Linked DNA regions of Homo sapiens: regions 1, 2, 4, 5 and 6 are each linked to region 3. Evidence: promoter capture Hi-C in 16 types of primary human blood cells and fetal thymus (Javierre and others, 2016). All regions are on one chromosome and are shown on one strand. The core of a region is centred on a gene start or on the middle of the fragment in contact, and the rest is flanking DNA. Distances in the headings are between cores, read along the strand shown.

What was found. Contacts are between HindIII fragments. The CHiCAGO score rates a contact against its expected background, and 5 or more counts as called.
Region 1: a contact is called between a fragment that was not itself captured here and the fragment with the promoter of RSPO3 in region 3, in 6 of 17 cell types (endothelial precursors, megakaryocytes, M1 macrophages and 3 more). The highest score is 9.8, in endothelial precursors.
Region 2: a fragment that was not itself captured here is called in contact with the fragment with the promoter of RSPO3 in region 3 in 4 of 17 cell types (megakaryocytes, endothelial precursors, erythroblasts and 1 more); the score reaches 6.8 in megakaryocytes.
Region 4: a fragment that was not itself captured here is called in contact with the fragment with the promoter of RSPO3 in region 3 in 1 of 17 cell types (activated CD4 T cells); the score reaches 5.5 in activated CD4 T cells.
Region 5: a contact is called between a fragment that was not itself captured here and the fragment with the promoter of RSPO3 in region 3, in 7 of 17 cell types (M1 macrophages, M2 macrophages, megakaryocytes and 4 more). The highest score is 10.0, in M1 macrophages.
Region 6: a fragment that was not itself captured here is called in contact with the fragment with the promoter of RSPO3 in region 3 in 1 of 17 cell types (M1 macrophages); the score reaches 5.7 in M1 macrophages.

The regions. Positions count from the first base shown.
Region 1 is chr6:126,042,405-126,045,104 of GRCh38, forward strand. It overlaps a transcript of TRMT11 not described here. Among named protein-coding and RNA genes, the nearest start is that of TRMT11, 57 kb to the left of the region's middle. The HindIII fragment of the contact is 2,112 bases long and covers 264-2,375 here.
Region 2 is chr6:126,024,629-126,027,379 of GRCh38, forward strand. All of the region lies in intron 12 of TRMT11 (tRNA methyltransferase 11), which reads left to right. Among named protein-coding and RNA genes, the nearest start is that of TRMT11, 39 kb to the left of the region's middle. The HindIII fragment of the contact is 8,451 bases long and covers 1-2,751 here.
Region 3 is chr6:127,117,258-127,119,957 of GRCh38, forward strand. RSPO3 (R-spondin 3) reads left to right here and starts at 1,414. Exons shown (of 5, transcript NM_032784.5): 1 at 1,414-2,032. The coding sequence starts at 1,936. LOC105377989 (a long non-coding RNA gene) reads right to left here. Exons shown (of 14, transcript XR_002956387.2): 4 at 1,644-2,700. The HindIII fragment of the contact is 5,242 bases long and covers 1-2,700 here.
Region 4 is chr6:125,144,152-125,146,851 of GRCh38, forward strand. No RefSeq gene overlaps it. Among named protein-coding and RNA genes, the nearest start is that of TPD52L1, 8.3 kb to the right of the region's middle. The HindIII fragment of the contact is 170 bases long and covers 1,339-1,508 here.
Region 5 is chr6:126,004,109-126,006,843 of GRCh38, forward strand. The region is part of intron 7 of TRMT11 (tRNA methyltransferase 11); the gene reads left to right. Among named protein-coding and RNA genes, the nearest start is that of TRMT11, 19 kb to the left of the region's middle. The HindIII fragment of the contact is 1,534 bases long and covers 708-2,241 here.
Region 6 is chr6:125,957,560-125,960,259 of GRCh38, forward strand. All of the region lies in intron 1 of HINT3 (histidine triad nucleotide binding protein 3), which reads left to right. Among named protein-coding and RNA genes, the nearest start is that of HINT3, 2.1 kb to the left of the region's middle. RefSeq lists an enhancer at 384-433. The HindIII fragment of the contact is 1,638 bases long and covers 517-2,154 here.

The DNA of each region.
Region 1 (2,700 bases), core at 70-2,569, 1.1 Mb before region 3:
TGGAGGTTTAATTGTAATGGCAGTCTTTTAAGCCTGGGTCATGGAACAAAATAGGGCTTAATAGATGAATGTTAAGATAAGTCAGCTTCCCTTATGTAACTGCTAGCCCTATTTCTTGTGATATTAAGATGTGCTTAGTATATTTTTGTTTTAAAATTTGGAAGTTCTTACTAAGATAATCATGTTGCAGTCATGCCAAACTGAATTGCCTAAAAAGGAACCTGTTTTGACCTCTATGACTTTAAAAATCTCTCCTTTAATCAAGCTTCCCTGGCTCTCTCCTGAGGATTTATCGGAAGAACTCTATTTTGGCTAACATGCAGCAGTGAAGATTAGCTGGGCTTATGTGTGAAGTTAGTCAAATTAAAAGAAAAGGAAAAAGGCTGAGGAGAAAATTAAAATTGAAAATGTAAATGGTACTTATGATATTGGAGTTGTGCTTTGATGGACTGCCAAAGTAATGTGTTGTAAGTTGGTGAAGTGGGTCAATATGGGCTGAGTTGTTATTGATGAGTTTTAAAAATCTTTAAGAGTCCCTTAAAATTTGTGTATAAATCTTGGAGTATCTCACCACAAGTTGGAGTGACTTCTGCACAAAGAGCCAAATTGCCTTTGCATTTTTCCATTTTTCTTTTTTCTTTTTTTATTTTATTTTATTATTATTATACTTTAAGTTTTAGGGTACATGTGCATAATGTGCAGGTTAGTTACATATGTATACATGTGCCATGCTGGTGTGCTGCACCCATTAACTCATCATTTAGCATTAGGTATATCTCCTAATGCTATCCCTCCCCCCTCCCCCCACCCCACAACAGTCCCCAGAGTGTGATGTTCCCCTTCCTGTGTCCATGTGTTCTCATTGTTCAATTCCCACCTATGAGTGAGAACATGCGGTGTTTTGTTTTTTGTTCTTGCGATAGTTTACTGAGAATGATGATTTCCAATTTCATCCATGTCCCTACAAAGGACATGAACTCATCATTTTTTATGGCTGCATAGTATTCCATGGTGTATATGTGCCACATTTTCTTAGTCCAGTCTATCATTGTTGGACATTTGGGTTGGTTCCAAGTCTTTGCTATTGTGAATAGTGCCGCAATAAACATACGTGTGCATGTGTCTTTATAGCAGCATGATTTATAGTCCTTTGGGTATATACCCAGTAATGGGATGGCTGGGTCAAATGGTATTTCTAGTTCTAGATCCCTGAGGAATTGCCACACTGACTTCTACAATGGTTGAACTAGTTTACAGTCCCACCAACAGTGTAAAACTGTTCCTATTTCTCCACATCCTCTCCAGCACCTGTTGTTTCCTGACTTTTTAATGATTGCCATTCTAACTGGTGTGAGATGGTATCTCATTGTGGTTTTGATTTGCATTTCTCTGATGGCCAGTGATGGTGAGCATTTTTTCATGTGTCTTTTGGCTGCATAAATGTCTTCTTTTGAGAAGTGTCTGTTCATATCCTTTGCCCACTTTTTGATGGGGTCGTTTGTTTTTTTCTTGTAAATTTGTTGGAGTTCATTGTAGATTCTGGATATTAGCCCTTTGTCAGATGAGTAGGTTGTGAAAATTTTCTCCCATTCTGTAGGTTGCCTGTTCACTCTGATGGTAGTTTCTTTTGCTGTGCAGAAGCTCTTTAGTTTAATTAGATCCCATTTGTCAATTTTGTCTTTTGTTGCCATTGCTTTTGGTGTTTTAGACATGAAGTCCTTGCCCATGCCTATGTCCTGAATGGTAATGCCTAGGTTTTCTTCTAGGGTTTTTATGGTTTTAGGTCTAACGTTTAAGTCTTTAATCCATCTTGAATTAATTTTTGTATAAAGTGTAAGGAAGGGATCCAGTTTCAGCTTTCTCCGTATGGCTAGCCAGTTTTCCCAGCACCATTTGTTAAATAGGGAATCCTTTCCCCATTGCTTGTTTTTCTCAGGTTTGTCAAAGATCAGATAGCTGTAGATATGCGGCATTATTTCTGAGGGCTCTGTTCTGTTCCGTCGATCTATATCTCTGTTTTGGTACCAGTACCATGCTGTTTTGGTTACTGTAGCCTTGTAGTATAGTTTGAAGTCAGGTAGCATGATGCCTCCATTTTTCTACATACCAATTGAGAAGCAATTCTCCATAGATCTCTTGCATTTCTATATGTCTTTCTAAGAAAGGCACAGACTTCTTGTGTCCTATACTGTGTTTTTGAGGATATTTGTATAGTGAACAATCTTGGAAGATATAGAGTCTTTCTCTCCCCTGTCTCCCCCTCGCTTTTAACTTCTGGAGCAGAGGTTTAAGTCTGTGTACAACCTTGGAAGATAGTGTCTTCCTTTCAGAGTAAAGGCATGCTTACTGCCCATTATAAAAGATTGGGTTCCCTAAGCTTAATATTTCTTCTTTCTAATACAACCTACTGTAAGTGCAGGCACCCATCTGGGCCTAATCTGGTCACTCTTCTGGGACTTGGGTATAAGGAAGAACTGATTGTTAAAATGCTGATTATCAGGCCAGGCACAGTGGCTCATGCCTGTAATCCCAGCATTTTGGGAGGCTGAGGCAGGTGGATCACCTGAGGTCAGGAGTTTGAGATCAGCCTGGCCAACATGGTGAAACCCCATCTCTACTAAAAATACAAAAATTACCCAGGCATGGTATGGTGCACGCCTATAATCCCAGCTACTCTGGAGGCTGAGACATGAGAATTGC
Region 2 (2,751 bases), core at 167-2,666, 1.1 Mb before region 3:
TCAAATACAGTCATATTGAGGGTTAGGGCCTTAACATATGAATTTTAGGGTAGAACAGAATTCATTCCATTACACTAACCATCACCAGTGTCCATCACATTGAATAAGAGGAGTCTGTTGTACGTTAGAGGATGCTTTTTTGTCTCCTCTCCTAGTCACTTACTTCTCATGTATATGTTTGTCTTTTGGTATTTTAAAGGAAGTAAGGCATTTTGATAATTCAGATGGTAACATTACAGCTCTTAGAAATCATAGCATTTAATAGAATCATTTGAGTTAGTAATATAATAGTAACTAACATTTATGTGCCAGGCACATGAGTAATACATGTAAAAAACAAACATTACCTGTAGATTTTGCAGTTTTAAGTCGTGATATTAGAAAGTAAAGTAAATGGCATTAGCATTCTTTATTGTGTGGCCTACATAAATAGTATTCCAAAGAATTAGGAGGACAAAGCTGTGGAGACTCTTTAATAATTCATGGAGCCATATAATAAATCAGCCATTCTATTTTAATGGAAAAATTTAAAAATTAAGACCCATTGTGGACTAATTTTTATACTTGCTTTCCACTGAGTTTTATTTGTTTAAGAAAGTCTGGTATTTTTTCCCAGATTTATAATATTTCCCTAAGCAAATTTATTTGAGACTGAAGGAAAACTGGGCTTTTGAGAATTTTTGTCCTATATTAAAATGATAAATGAGGGTACTCACCTTTGGTATTTTTAAACCTGTAAAGGCAGTGCTCATTTTTGTCAGGTTTACTTTTTATCATTTTATTTTGTTCTTTTCCAATTGATTTAAAAAAACAACAACAAGGAAAAGCCTCAAGTAATTTTTTGAAATGGTCTTCCCTATATAAGATCAAATTTAACTAGTGAATTTTTACTAGTATGATGTTTACTGTAACCAAAAATACTTTGTCATGTTAAATTAATCATGTTTGGTTTTTAATTAATTACTTCATTTCTACCTTTTGTTTGTGTGGAGAGGAATGTATATAATTGCAGCAAGATCTCAATCCTTTATAATGCAAGTGGTGACATAAAATTGTCAAACAGTCCTCACACACCTCTAACAAATTATTCTTGGGCTTGTTCAGCATTGTTGATTTTGGCAATGGAAGACTGTTAGTTTTAGATTTTTACACTTTTGTATACTGTGTCTCTTCATTTTTGATTTGTCACTTGTTAGGTTTAACTTCAGTATAACTTTTGGCCCACTTGGTATGCTGTTATAAAGTATTCTCCCTATCCCTCTTTTAAAAGTGTAAATGTAAGTTACAACAAAAATTGTCTAAGCAATATTGATATTTTATAAAATGTTGAAGTTTTGGATTATTGGTCATAGTTTTCAGACTTGCTTATGGCACATATGTAGTAAAGAAGAAAATTCTTGACAACTGTATTAAAATTTTGAAATTGCCTGATAAGAAGGGCCAGGTTTTTTCATTATTCCTTGTTGATATATTCTGAAAGCCAAGTGAATGATGAGTAACACTTTTATAATGCATTATTGTTTATAAAACTTCCCTATCCATTTGACTTTATTAATTTCCCCATTTTAGAAATGAGGAAGAGTAGCCTGGGACTATCCTATTTTGCTTAAATAGTAAGTGGAAGAGTTGAGACCAAAACTCCTCTTTGTACTTGAAATTCTGTGTCGTTTTTTTCTACATCTTGCTGCCTCTCTACCGAAGCATATTTCTACCTTTAGAATGTGCCAAGATTAAAAGGTAAATATTCTTTTTATGTTTTTTTTTAATTTTTTTTTTGAGATAGAGTCTTACTCTGTTGCCAGGCTGGAGTGCAGTGGCGTGATCTTGACTCACTGCAACCTCCGCCTTCTGGGTTCAAGTGATTCTCCTTGCCTCAGCCTCCCGAGTAGCTGGGACTACAGGCGTGTGCCACCATGCCCAGCTAATTTTTGTATTTTTAGTAGAGACGGGGTTTCACCATGTTGGCCAGGATGGTCTCGATCTCCTAACCTCGTGATCCGCCCACCTCAGCCTCCCAAAGTGCTGGGATTATAGGCGCGAGCCATCGCGCCCGGCTCTAAAAGGTAAATATTCTTGAGTGACATATTACTAGTTTTTTTTAAAGATAGTCTTTCCTTGTCCTGCTGTATAGCTAGTGTTACTTTTGGGGCCATGGTAGAATGTGGTTTTTTGGGTTTTTTTTTTTTTTTTTTGAGACGGAGTCTTGCTCTGTTGCCCAGGATGGAGTGCAGTGGCGGGATCTCAGCGCACTGCAAGCTCCGCCTCCCGGGTTCACGCCATTCTCCTGCCTCAGCCTCCCAAGTAGCTGGGACTACAGGCGCCTGCCACCCCGTCCGGCTAATTTCGTTTTTGTATTTTTAGTAGAGACGGGGTTTCACCATGTTAGCCAGGATGGTCTCGATTTCCTGACCTCGTGATCCGCCAGCCTCGGCCTCCCAAAGTGCTGGGATTACAGGCATGAGCCACCGCGCCCGGCCGTTTGTTTTACTAGATCTTGCTGTCCCACTTAACACAACGTGTAGTTGATGCTGCTATATGTGGTTGTAGTCACAGTGGTTACTTCTATAAAACATTTTTCTTATATGAAATGTATAGGATAAAAGGCTGATCTCCAGAGTTGTCCACAACAGACTGAGGTATAATAGTTACGTTTTCAATGACGGTCACCTGAAGCAATTCTCTCTCAACCTTCTCCATAGAATCTACTTGAACAGATGAAAAGAGCACCCAGGGTAGCCTTTTCAAGATTTC
Region 3 (2,700 bases), core at 164-2,663:
GGCTGGTGCTACCGGAGAAAAGACGTGGAAAGCTCACCATTTACTAACGACAGCCAGGGTGTGCCCCACTCAGGGGTGCCGGCCCTCTGTTCTCCCATCCCTGGGTGGGCCAGAGCATCTTACTCTCTGCTGCCTTGGGCCTCCACTTGGGCTGGGAAGATAAGAAAGTAGTGGACCTTCCCCTTCCTTCCCCAAGACTGGGAAAATCTTTCCAAATCTTATTCCCAGTCTTCCAGATGCGAGATTAGAATGTACAACAGATCCTCTCAAGAACACTGGGAGACCGAGGGTGGGAGAGAAAACTCCAAGGGGGGCGAGCTGACTATAGAGGGAATTGCCTGAGCGGGAAAGGAATCTTCCAAAGCCACAGAAAAGCCTTGGTTTGGAAGAAAGCCGTAGCACAGCTGCATTTCCAACGGGAAGGTCCTGAGCGCACACACTTCTGGGTCCTCCCCGCTCGGAGCAGGTAAACCTCAGAGTAGCTGACCGGCAGCACCCACAGAGTTTCCTCCCCACCACCCGCCTGGCGACCAACTGCAGCCGAAAAGAAAGAAAGAAAGGAAAGAAAGAAAGAAAGAAGAAGGAAGGAAGGAAGGAAGGAAGGAAGGAAGGAAGGAAGGAAAGAAAGAAAGAAAGACAAAGAAAGAGGAAGGAAGAAAGAAAGAAAAGAAAGAAAGAGAAAGAAAGAAAGAAAGAAAGAAAGAAAGAAAGAAAGAAAGAAAGAAAGAAAGAAAGAAAGAAAGAAAGAAAGAGAGAGAAAAAGAAAAAGGGAGAAAGGCAACAGAGGAGAAGGTCAGGAAAGCCGGGAACAAGTCAGCAGCCAGAAACTCTCCAGCGATCTGCCAAGGGGGAGAGGGTAGTTGCGCGCCGGCGCTGGGGATGGGGTGGGGGCGCTGGGGCACAAGGGCGCAGGGGCGCACGGCCACCGACAGCCGGGTGCGCCTAGCTTGAGGCCGCGGAGAGGAGCCGAACTGGGATGGGTGGGGGGTCTTCGGCCTCAACACTGCCTGCCAGCCCCAGTGCGCCCAAGTCTCCCCGCCAGAGCTGCCCTTCTGGAGGGGCTCTTCGCACGCACTGCTTTCCCCATTCTTCTGGCTGGAATTCTCCGGCCGTCACTGCAGTGTCCAGAGATGCTGCGCTGTAGACCCGGGACCCCTTAGGCGCCTCTTCCCGTCCCTCTGCCAAAGCGCAACGCCTGTACTTTTCCAGCTCCCTCTTTCCCTCTTGAAATTGAAAGTTATTGAGGTCGCTCAGGGTTGTTGCTCCAGCAGTTTCCTTCCCCGCCCCCGAGCTCCCCCCCGCCCCCCACAGCCATCCCCCCTCCTCTCCCCCTCCCTGCCCTCCTCTCCCTCCCCCCTCCCTGCCCTCCTCCTCCTCCTCCCCTATGTGGTGCTCCCGGGAGCCCAGCCCAACACTGGAGCGTCTCCTGCTCGCGCACGCCAGAAGCAGCTCGGGGTCTCTCCGCCGCCCCTTGGCCATGGCCGCTGTGCCGACGGCGCCCGCTCCCCTGCGCTCCAGGGGCCCCCGCCGCTGCAGCCGCAGCCGCCGCAGCTTCTGAGCCCAAGGGGCCGCCGCTGCAGCCGCCGCCGCCGCCGCTCGCCCGCCCGGATCCCGCCTGCGGCAGTTGCCGCACAACATGCTACCTGCGGCCGCCCCGGCGGCTCCTGGAACCCCGGTTCGCGGCGATGCCAGCCACCCCAGCGAAGCCGCCGCAGTTCAGTGCTTGGATAATTTGAAAGTACAATAGTTGGTTTCCCTGTCCACCCGCCCCACTTCGCTTGCCATCACAGCACGCCTATCGGATGTGAGAGGAGAAGTCCCGCTGCTCGGGCACTGTCTATATACGCCTAACACCTACATATATTTTAAAAACATTAAATATAATTAACAATCAAAAGAAAGAGGAGAAAGGAAGGGAAGCATTACTGGGTTACTATGCACTTGCGACTGATTTCTTGGCTTTTTATCATTTTGAACTTTATGGAATACATCGGCAGCCAAAACGCCTCCCGGGGAAGGCGCCAGCGAAGAAGTAAGTGCAGGGTTTTTTACGCGTTTGCTCCCTCCCGCCGCGTTCACCTGTCGGGTCGCTTTGCCTGTCCGGAGCCGGCTCCCAACTGCAGCGGTCCTCCCGCCCTGCGCCTCGCAGAGGAGATGCAGGTTCGGGCTTTGGGGGTATGGACGGCGTCTTTCACCCTTGCCTCTCGGCGCCCCTGCCTTCCGCAGCATCCTAGCCGGTGCGAGGGGCGGGCGGACGCGGCGCTAAGGTGGCTCCCGCCCCATGGTAACTTCAGGTTCGCGGGAAAGTTCGGTCCTGGGTTAGACTCGCACCCGGGATTTGTGCTTTCCTTTTGAGGATCGGACAGGGGCACCCAGCCGAAGGCACTTGGGACTCCCAGACGCAGGATGCCTCTGACCGCTGAGTAAATGACAAGGGAGGCGCGGCCGCGGTACCCGCTCACCTAGCGCAACCGCCTCGCGCGGGGAGACCTCGGCTGGGCCCTTAGGCTGGACTCCGGTAGCCGAACGCCCGCTACCCGGCCAGGAAGCCAGGGAGCGAGCGCCTGCGCGGCCGCATCCCCGACACGCACCAGCGGAGCCAAAGGGCGCGCGAGGCGATGGGGTTCGCGTGTCTGCGCGTTTGCAGAGCTGCCGGACGTCCCCCGCCCGAGGGTTGAAGACAGCAAAACCCCAGCTGTG
Region 4 (2,700 bases), core at 174-2,673, 2.0 Mb before region 3:
TTCTCCCTCTGTTTCCAGAGGGATCCTGCCTACCACCTGGAAAGAAGGAATGTCATACAGAGAAGCCTAGAAGAATTCAAAGAGCCAGGCCTTGCTGGATTTCCCCCATCAGTCTGTTACCAATAACTTATACCCTTTTATCCAATTACATTTCCTCACAGCTGTCCATTCTTCATTGAACTTAAGCCTAAAAACAGTTTCCCCTGGATTCTAGGGTCTTCATTTCTGAAGGCTCCCATGTAACCCAAATCTTTGATTACATAAATTTGTTATGGTTTGAATTGTTGTGATGGTTAATACTGAGTGTCAACTGGACTGGGTTGAAGGATGCCAAGTATTGATCCTGGGTGTGTCTGTGAGGGTGTTGCCAAAGGAGATTAATATTTGAGTCAGTGGGCTGGGAAAGGCAGGCTCACCCTTATTCTTGGTGCGCACCATCTAATCAGCTGCCAGCACAGCTGGAATATAAAGCAGTGAAAAACACGAAAACACTAGACTGGCCTAGCCTCCCAGCGCTTCCTGCGCTTGAACATCAGATTCCAAGTTCTTCAGTTTTGGGGCTCGGACTGACTCTCCTTGCTCCTCAGCTTGCAGATGGCCTATTGTGGGAGATCGTGTGAGTTAATACTTAATAAACTCTATATATATATATATATATATATATATATATATATATATATATATATAAAATTAGTTCTATCCCTCTGAGAACTCACTAACACACTTGCTAACCTATCTTTTGTTGTAGGAGTTTTAGCCTGACCCTTATGATGGGTGAGGAAAGGTATCACTCCTTTCCCTTCCTATGGTGGCATCTGTTAAGGATGTTAAGGATGTGTTAAGGAAGCAGGTGAACAATGACTAACAACAACAGAGGGAAACAGGAAAACTCCAAGAGTGGCTGTTTGTGGAAATGACGGACAAAAATCTCCACCCCTGCCTAGGCTCAGAAGGCATTCCTTCAGTGTAGGGATCCCCATATTGTACAGGGTAATAACTTTTACTTGTAATGATTCTGAGTTGTCAAGAAAAAGGTACTGCTGTGTTTCTCACCTGAGAGTGATTTTGCCCTCCAGGAGACATGTGGCAATGTAGGGAGACTTTTGATCATCATGACCATGGGGCTACTACTCTCTACCTCTAGTGGGTAGAGGCCAGTGATGTTCCTAAACATCATATAGCACAACAAAGAATTATCCAGCAAAAATGTCGATAGTGCCAATGTTGAGAAACCCTGCATTAAAATCTCAGAGATCTAATAAATTTTAAATGCATTTTAGAGATTGTTAGTAAAAGCAATTATATATTTCTCAAAAAGTTTTCAAGGGTAAAGGAATAAGCTTTAGTATATGGGAACCTCAGGATACAACTAAATAATATGTCCTTTTGTAATGAAAATAAGCACCTTTATCCTCCAAGTTCTCTGAATATCCATGCATTATTTACAGATCCAGTGAATATGTCTAGAAACTTTAGTGGAATGTAGAAAAGACAAAATTTATTCATTAAGCTTTGTGTAAAGCATTTCATGTAATGCATTCAATTTGTTGGGAAGCTACAACTTTTTGAGGGATAAACATGAAATGTTTGTACTTTATGAAATAATTGTTCTTTCAACTGGCTGAATAGGGGCTCTCTTTCAGGCATCTGGTCAAGATTTATTAATTTTTGTTAGTTTTTAGTAATTAGAACAGTCTCATATTGGTATATGATCTATATGATTTAGTCTTCTCAATGTCAAAGTAAATCTTTTATTTTTTTTGAGGTAGAGTCTTGCTCTGTCACCAAGGGTGGAGTGCAATGGCACAATCTCAGCTCACTGCAACCTCTGCCTCCCAGGTTCAAGCAATTCTCCTGCCTTAGCTTCCCAAGTAGTTGGGATTACAGGTGCCCACCACATGCCCGGCTAATTTTTGTATTTGTAGTAGAGACGGGGTTTTGCCATGCTGGTCAGGCTGGTCTCGAACTCCTGACCTCAGGAGATCCACCCACCTCGGCCTCCCAAAGTGCAAAGTAAATCTTATAGGGAAGGAAAAGTTTCCTCAAACCTCCTAGGGCTCCTGGCTCGGTCTGAAATAAAAACCGACAAAGACAGATTAACAGGAGAAAAGCACATTTATTTAACCAAAAGCAACTTATTTAATCAAAGCTTTATGTGACGGGGAGTCTTCATAAATGAAGACCTAAAGACCTAAGAAAACTCTATTTTTATGCTTAATTTTATGTTCAGTGAAGAATGGACAGCCATGAGGAAATGTGATTGAACAGAAGGGGTATGATCTAATGGTCATAGGTTGAGAGGGGAAACCCAGTGATACGGTTTGGATCTGTGTTCCCACCAAACCTCATGTTGAAATGTAATACCCAGTGTTGGAGGTAGGGTGCAATGCGAGGTCCTTGGCTCACGGAAGCGGCTCCCTCATGAATGGATTAGCACCATCCCCTTTCTGATAAGTGAGTTCGCGGAAGATTTGGTCATTTAAAAGTGTGGGGCACCTCCTACTCTCTCTCTCTTGCCCCTCTCTTGCCATGTGATATGCCGACTCCTGCTTCACCTTCTACTGTGAGTAAAAGCTCCCTGTGACCTCCTCGGAAGCCAAGCAGATGCTGAAGACATGCTTCCTGTACAGTCTGCAGGACTGAGAGTCAATTAAACTTCTTTTTAAAATAAACTACCCAGTCCCAAGTATTTAAAGCAAT
Region 5 (2,735 bases), core at 225-2,724, 1.1 Mb before region 3:
TATACATGTAGAAAATGATTAATATATATACATACACATAGACTAGACCACAGAGTTAAAAAATATGGTTGCCAGTATGGGTAATATTTTTTTGTTGAGTAGATGAGGCTAGATTTTGAAATTATCTTCACAGCTGTCAATATATGGACCATTTATAGTGTGTTGAGGGGCAAGGAGACCTGCTTCTGTTTGCTTTAGGGCAGCTCCTCACAGTGGGTAGTATATTTGGAACGTCTGACTGTTCATATAGTACAATTAATAGAAAATGAGAGGAGGATCTTTGCAAAGGTGCTGCTGAAATATATTTTCGTAATTTGTGTTTGTAGTTTAAGTATAGCTTTAGGACATCAGTCAATTTTTGGTGCTTTTGTTTTGAAACATAATAACCAATAATTGTGAATAGACACAGGTCTTAAGCACAGTTTGTCCTCTCTTGGGCCTTTTGCCTCATCGATGGGTGGTACCTTCTGAAGGACTGGAGAAATACGTAGCTCTGTGTCCTTCTCCATGGCCATAGTTTTCACAAAACATTTGTTGATATTTTTCTTTTGGTTGCCTTTTAAATAGTTTTTTAAAAAAAATTCATGTGTCTAATCCCCTTTTTATTTTAAAGGTACAAAATTGAAATGTATGTAGTTTCCCAAATGTATTGCTCACTTACTACTCATGGTTCGTGATTTTTCTCAGGGATATAGAGTAGGGTAGAAAGCTTCTGGGAGACTGAAAGGAGAAAAATAATCTTTTCATGCCTAAATACTTTTCCTTTTTTCCTTTAGACTGTTTGCTACTGTTGTTTAGAATGACATTATGAGCGGCAGAAACACACTTTTCTTTCAATTTTAACAAATACATTGGTTTTCATTTTAGTAAAAATTCTTTTTTTAAAGTGTGTGTCTCCACTTTCCCAAAGGGGAAGAGACATAGCATTGTGTCATCTCTTAGTTGTTAGGAAGTGCTACTATTCTCATGTGAGTTTGGCTAAAGGAATGATCATCATGAATTTATTGAATACCTATTAATGGCACAGCCCTGTCTGTGATACAGTACAAGACTTGTGAATGGCATATATAACACTCTTATTAACAGAGTGTGTAGCTTTACTTAATTTAATGTAATTTGTTTAGTAGCATATTTTGCTTTTGTTTATCTAATTGGTGAGTGAATATGTATTTACTTCAATTGGTGCTAATCCCAAAGGAGGTAGTATGATATAAAGAAAAGAATAAATAGAGCAAAGTTTAAATCTTTTTACCAATTAGTATGTGACTTTGGGCAAGATTCTTAACTTGTCTGGGTTTCACGTCTATCATTTGTAAAATGGTAATACTAATATATTGTGAGGATTAAGTGAGGCAATATGTGTATATCATATTTCTAGGAAGTTGCCTGACACGTGGTAGACATTTAGTGAACTGTAATGGTTATCATTATTACTTTTTGATTATTATTTTGATGATATTTTAGATGCCTTTTTGGTGAAAGATGTTAGATGTAGCTAATATTAAATGGTGATGATAAAGAATTTGACCATAAACTCATTTTCTAGTACTCTTTTTGGCTAATTTCCAAGATATTAGTAATTTGCAACTGTTGGCAGGTTATAGCAGCAGGCAAGGGAATTGAAATATAAAATTATAAATGTCAAATTCTTTGTTTATAATTAATATGTGCAAGTGGATGCCAGTTGCTTTAGGTAGCACAGAACTCTGCAGCCGTAGATCTGATCCCCTCTCATCCCCTCTGTCAAGTGAGTCAGCTCCTCCAGTAATGAGAATTCACCCAGAAGACTAATGTATACTCCTTGGCCATGTCTACCTTCAGATGACCCATAGGTGGAAGGAAAGGAGTGTAGCTCCTTTTGAAGTTTTATCATTGTAAAATAGTGGACGCAGAAACCAGGTGTTAAGGAACTGACTGTCCTGGTTCTGGGAAGAGAAAATGGGGAGAAAAAGAGAAGGTTAGGAGAGTGAGATAATGGATCTCTGTAGTTTATATAATATTCTCTTTCGCATTTTTTTCCCACTACCCTTTGTAGTCCCCTTTTCCTGGAATCCCATGGTTCGTCTAGTAGGAGTCCCATTGTCTAGCAGTATTCTTTTGCTCGGCCTGCTAATTTAATTTATTTAAGTAGAATTCTTTTTTTAAAAAAGATAAAATAGATGCAATAATATTGCCATTTTTCTTTCTTTTTTTTCTCTCAGCAAAACCAAAGCCCAGTCTCTCATTTCTCCACGTTTGCAAAGCTTTCCAGTTAGTTCTTTAAAGATGAAAATCATGAATTAGTTTTTACATCATGGAATAAATTCAATTCTTATTGTATTATTTTGCCTGTAAGATACTACCCTAACCTTAAAGTGCTTACTATTTAAGTAATGAGAAATTGAAACACCGAGTTGCTAGCATAGATCACATATGCAGTATTTTTACTTTTGGTAACGCAAAAAGAAATGGGTGAGTCATGTTACTTGCCTCCTTGACACTTCACTCTCCTTTTTTTTTTAGCACCCCTTCTTCCACCAAAAAGATCCCCTAAAAAACTCCAACTGAGGTATAGCTAAATGTAAAAAGTGCTTCAATTTAATCAAAAGAACAACTAGATGACTACCAATGATTACCCAGTGACCAGTTCAGATAAGCTAATTTATTATGATTTTATTTAAAAAAAAATAAAAGCTTAAAGGGCACGAAGTTAAGTATCAGGTGCAGTCTAACAGATTATTCATCTCCTTTCAGCA
Region 6 (2,700 bases), core at 86-2,585, 1.2 Mb before region 3:
CCTTCAAGATACTGATTTTAAATCCTGCACACTCTAATACCGATACTGATGAGAAAACTAGTAGAAAATAGGTAATGATAATTGTGGAAAGCTGTTTGTTAGATTGGCAGAAAATAGGCTGGAGGGAGTGGGTCTGAGGTCAAACTATTATTGAATTGCCTCTGAATTCCACTGTCAGTTGGGATGCGTGGACATTTTCAGAGCATGAAGACTTTGCCCAGATATTTTTAAACGGATAATCTGGCACACACTTTATTCTGTTGGTTTTACTTGTCCATATAGAAACAACTTTTTGAGAGAATTAGCTCCAAAGATTGTGTCTTTTGTAGTAAACATTCCTTTATTTTTTAAAAAATAAATATAATTCCTTCTAAGCACCTTGTTTTGGAGGTTTTTGAGCAAGATAAGGGACAGTCTGTGTCCCGATTTTACAATCTAAAGGGCGGAATGTATACAGAGGAGGTAGCCAGTTACAATGCCTCGTGCTGTGGTCAGGTGATTTTACAGTATTTTGTAAGCTTGTGGGAGGAGCATCTAACCCAGCTCTGAAGAATTAGGGAAGGCTTTCCAGAGGAAATGAGACATGAAGAAATAAGTAGGAGTTGATCAGATGAGGAAATGGAGAGAATAATGTCCCAGGTTGAGAGACCCCCCGAGAGGTTCAGTTTGTGTGATAGAAAAACTAACAGAAATTGTCTAACTAGTGCATAGAGTTTGAGAGGATGAAAGGCGAGGCTGGAGAGGTAAACAAGGGACCAGATTATTAAGTGTGTTGGAAGTCATGTGAAGGAATTTGTCTTTATCTGAAGAGCAAAGTGAAACTTCACAATGTTTAATGGTGGGTTGGGAGGAAGATGTTGCGGAGTTATAGGAAGGGGGTTGATCTTTGAAAGGTCATTCTGGCATCATTGTGGAGAATGATTTGGAGGAGACCAGTCTGGAGGTATGGAGACCCGTTAGAAGGCTAGTAGATTAATCTACCCTGATGATGGCCTGAAATGAGAATGTGGTAGAGGAGATTATGAAAAGTATATCAATTTAAGGGATACAGTATTCAGGAGGTAAAACAGGGAGGACTTGATGGATACAGGTCAGTGATTCTCAACTGGGGGCAATTTTGCCCTCCCAGGGTACATTTTGCAATGTATTGAGATACTTTTGATTGTAACAACTTCTGGCACTTCTAGGGGTTGCTTCTGGGACCTAAATAATGGATAAAAGCCAGGGTTGCTATTAACATGGTACAGTGCACAGGACAGCACCCCCACCACCCCATCAACACACACACATAAAACAGGCTTATCCAGCCCTCAAAATGTCAGAAGTGCCAAGGTTTAGAAACCCTGATTTAGATATAAGAGGATAAGGAAATGAAAGAGGGTGAAGTCAAAGATGATTTCCAGGTTTCTGGCTAGGGTAAACTAGTAGTGGTGGTACCATTTCATTAAGCTCGGGAACACAGGAGGAGAAAAGATGGCCAGGGGAGTGGTGGGAGGTAGCAAAGCGATGAGTTGAGCTATGGAGTTGTGGAGTTTGAGGTGAGTTTGAGGCATCTAAGTAGAGATGTCTTTTAAATGGTTGGATAGTCTAGCACTCTGTAGAGGGATCTGTATCTCTAACCCAGATTACAGGAACTGTCGGTTTATAGATGGAAACTGAAAAAGAAGGGAAGCGATGAGATCACCCATGAGGTAAAAAGTGAAGGGGAGGCCTACACAGAACTCTGAAGAACACTAACATCATAAGGGACAGACAGAGGAAGAGGACCTGGAAAGGGAATAGAGAAGGAACAGAGAAATAGAAGGAACGCTGGAAAGGCTAAGAGAAGGGAGTATGTCAAAAAGAAAGGAATTGCCAGCAATGTCAGCAGCAATATTAGCCTGCCTTCATCCTCAAATCTGGGTTAGATGACCCTTGTATGTCCTTGCAGAGTCAGAGCAGGACTGGTTGTGTCCCCAAAGTGATGTTCATTGACCTTGAGGAGAGCAATTTCATGAAGTGGTGAAGCAAAAGGCAGATAGCAGTTGATTGAGAAGAACTTGGGAAAGGAAGGAGTGAAGACAGCAAATACAGACAACTCTCACAGGAATTTGGCAATCCAGGGGAGGAGGGAAAGGTAGTGGTAGCTACAGGAGAAGTTGGGGATTAAGAGAAAGCTTTTAAAACAGTGAAACCTTTTGTGTGTTCAAATCCCAGTGGGAAGATGCCTATAGAGAGAGGTTTAAAATGGCCCGGCGGGTAGAATGTTGACCCTGGGAAAGAGGAAACTCATTCCTCACTCTCTGTGTGCCAGGCACTGTTGGAGGCATGGGGATACAGCCGTAAACAAAACATGCAAAACTCCTTGCCCTTGTGGAGCTCACATTGTCGTTGCAGAAAAGGATAATAAGCAAAACAATAAGTAAAATTTATAGTTTATTAGATGGCAGAAAATAAAGAGGAAGGGGATGCAGTTTTAAAATTTTAGTCAGGAAAATCTGCACTAAGCAGGTGACATTTGGGTTAAGCCTTGAAAAAGGAGAAGGAGCAATTATATGGTTATATGGTTATTTACAAGTAAAAGGTTTGAAGTAGCTCCTGTGAAGGCTAGGAGAGAGAATTAGGGAAACAAGGATTGTTGTACAGCGGGTCACGTGAGGTTGAGGACATTCAATTTCAGGTCATACCAGTCTGCTTAGTTGTGTGATTTTCTTCCCACTT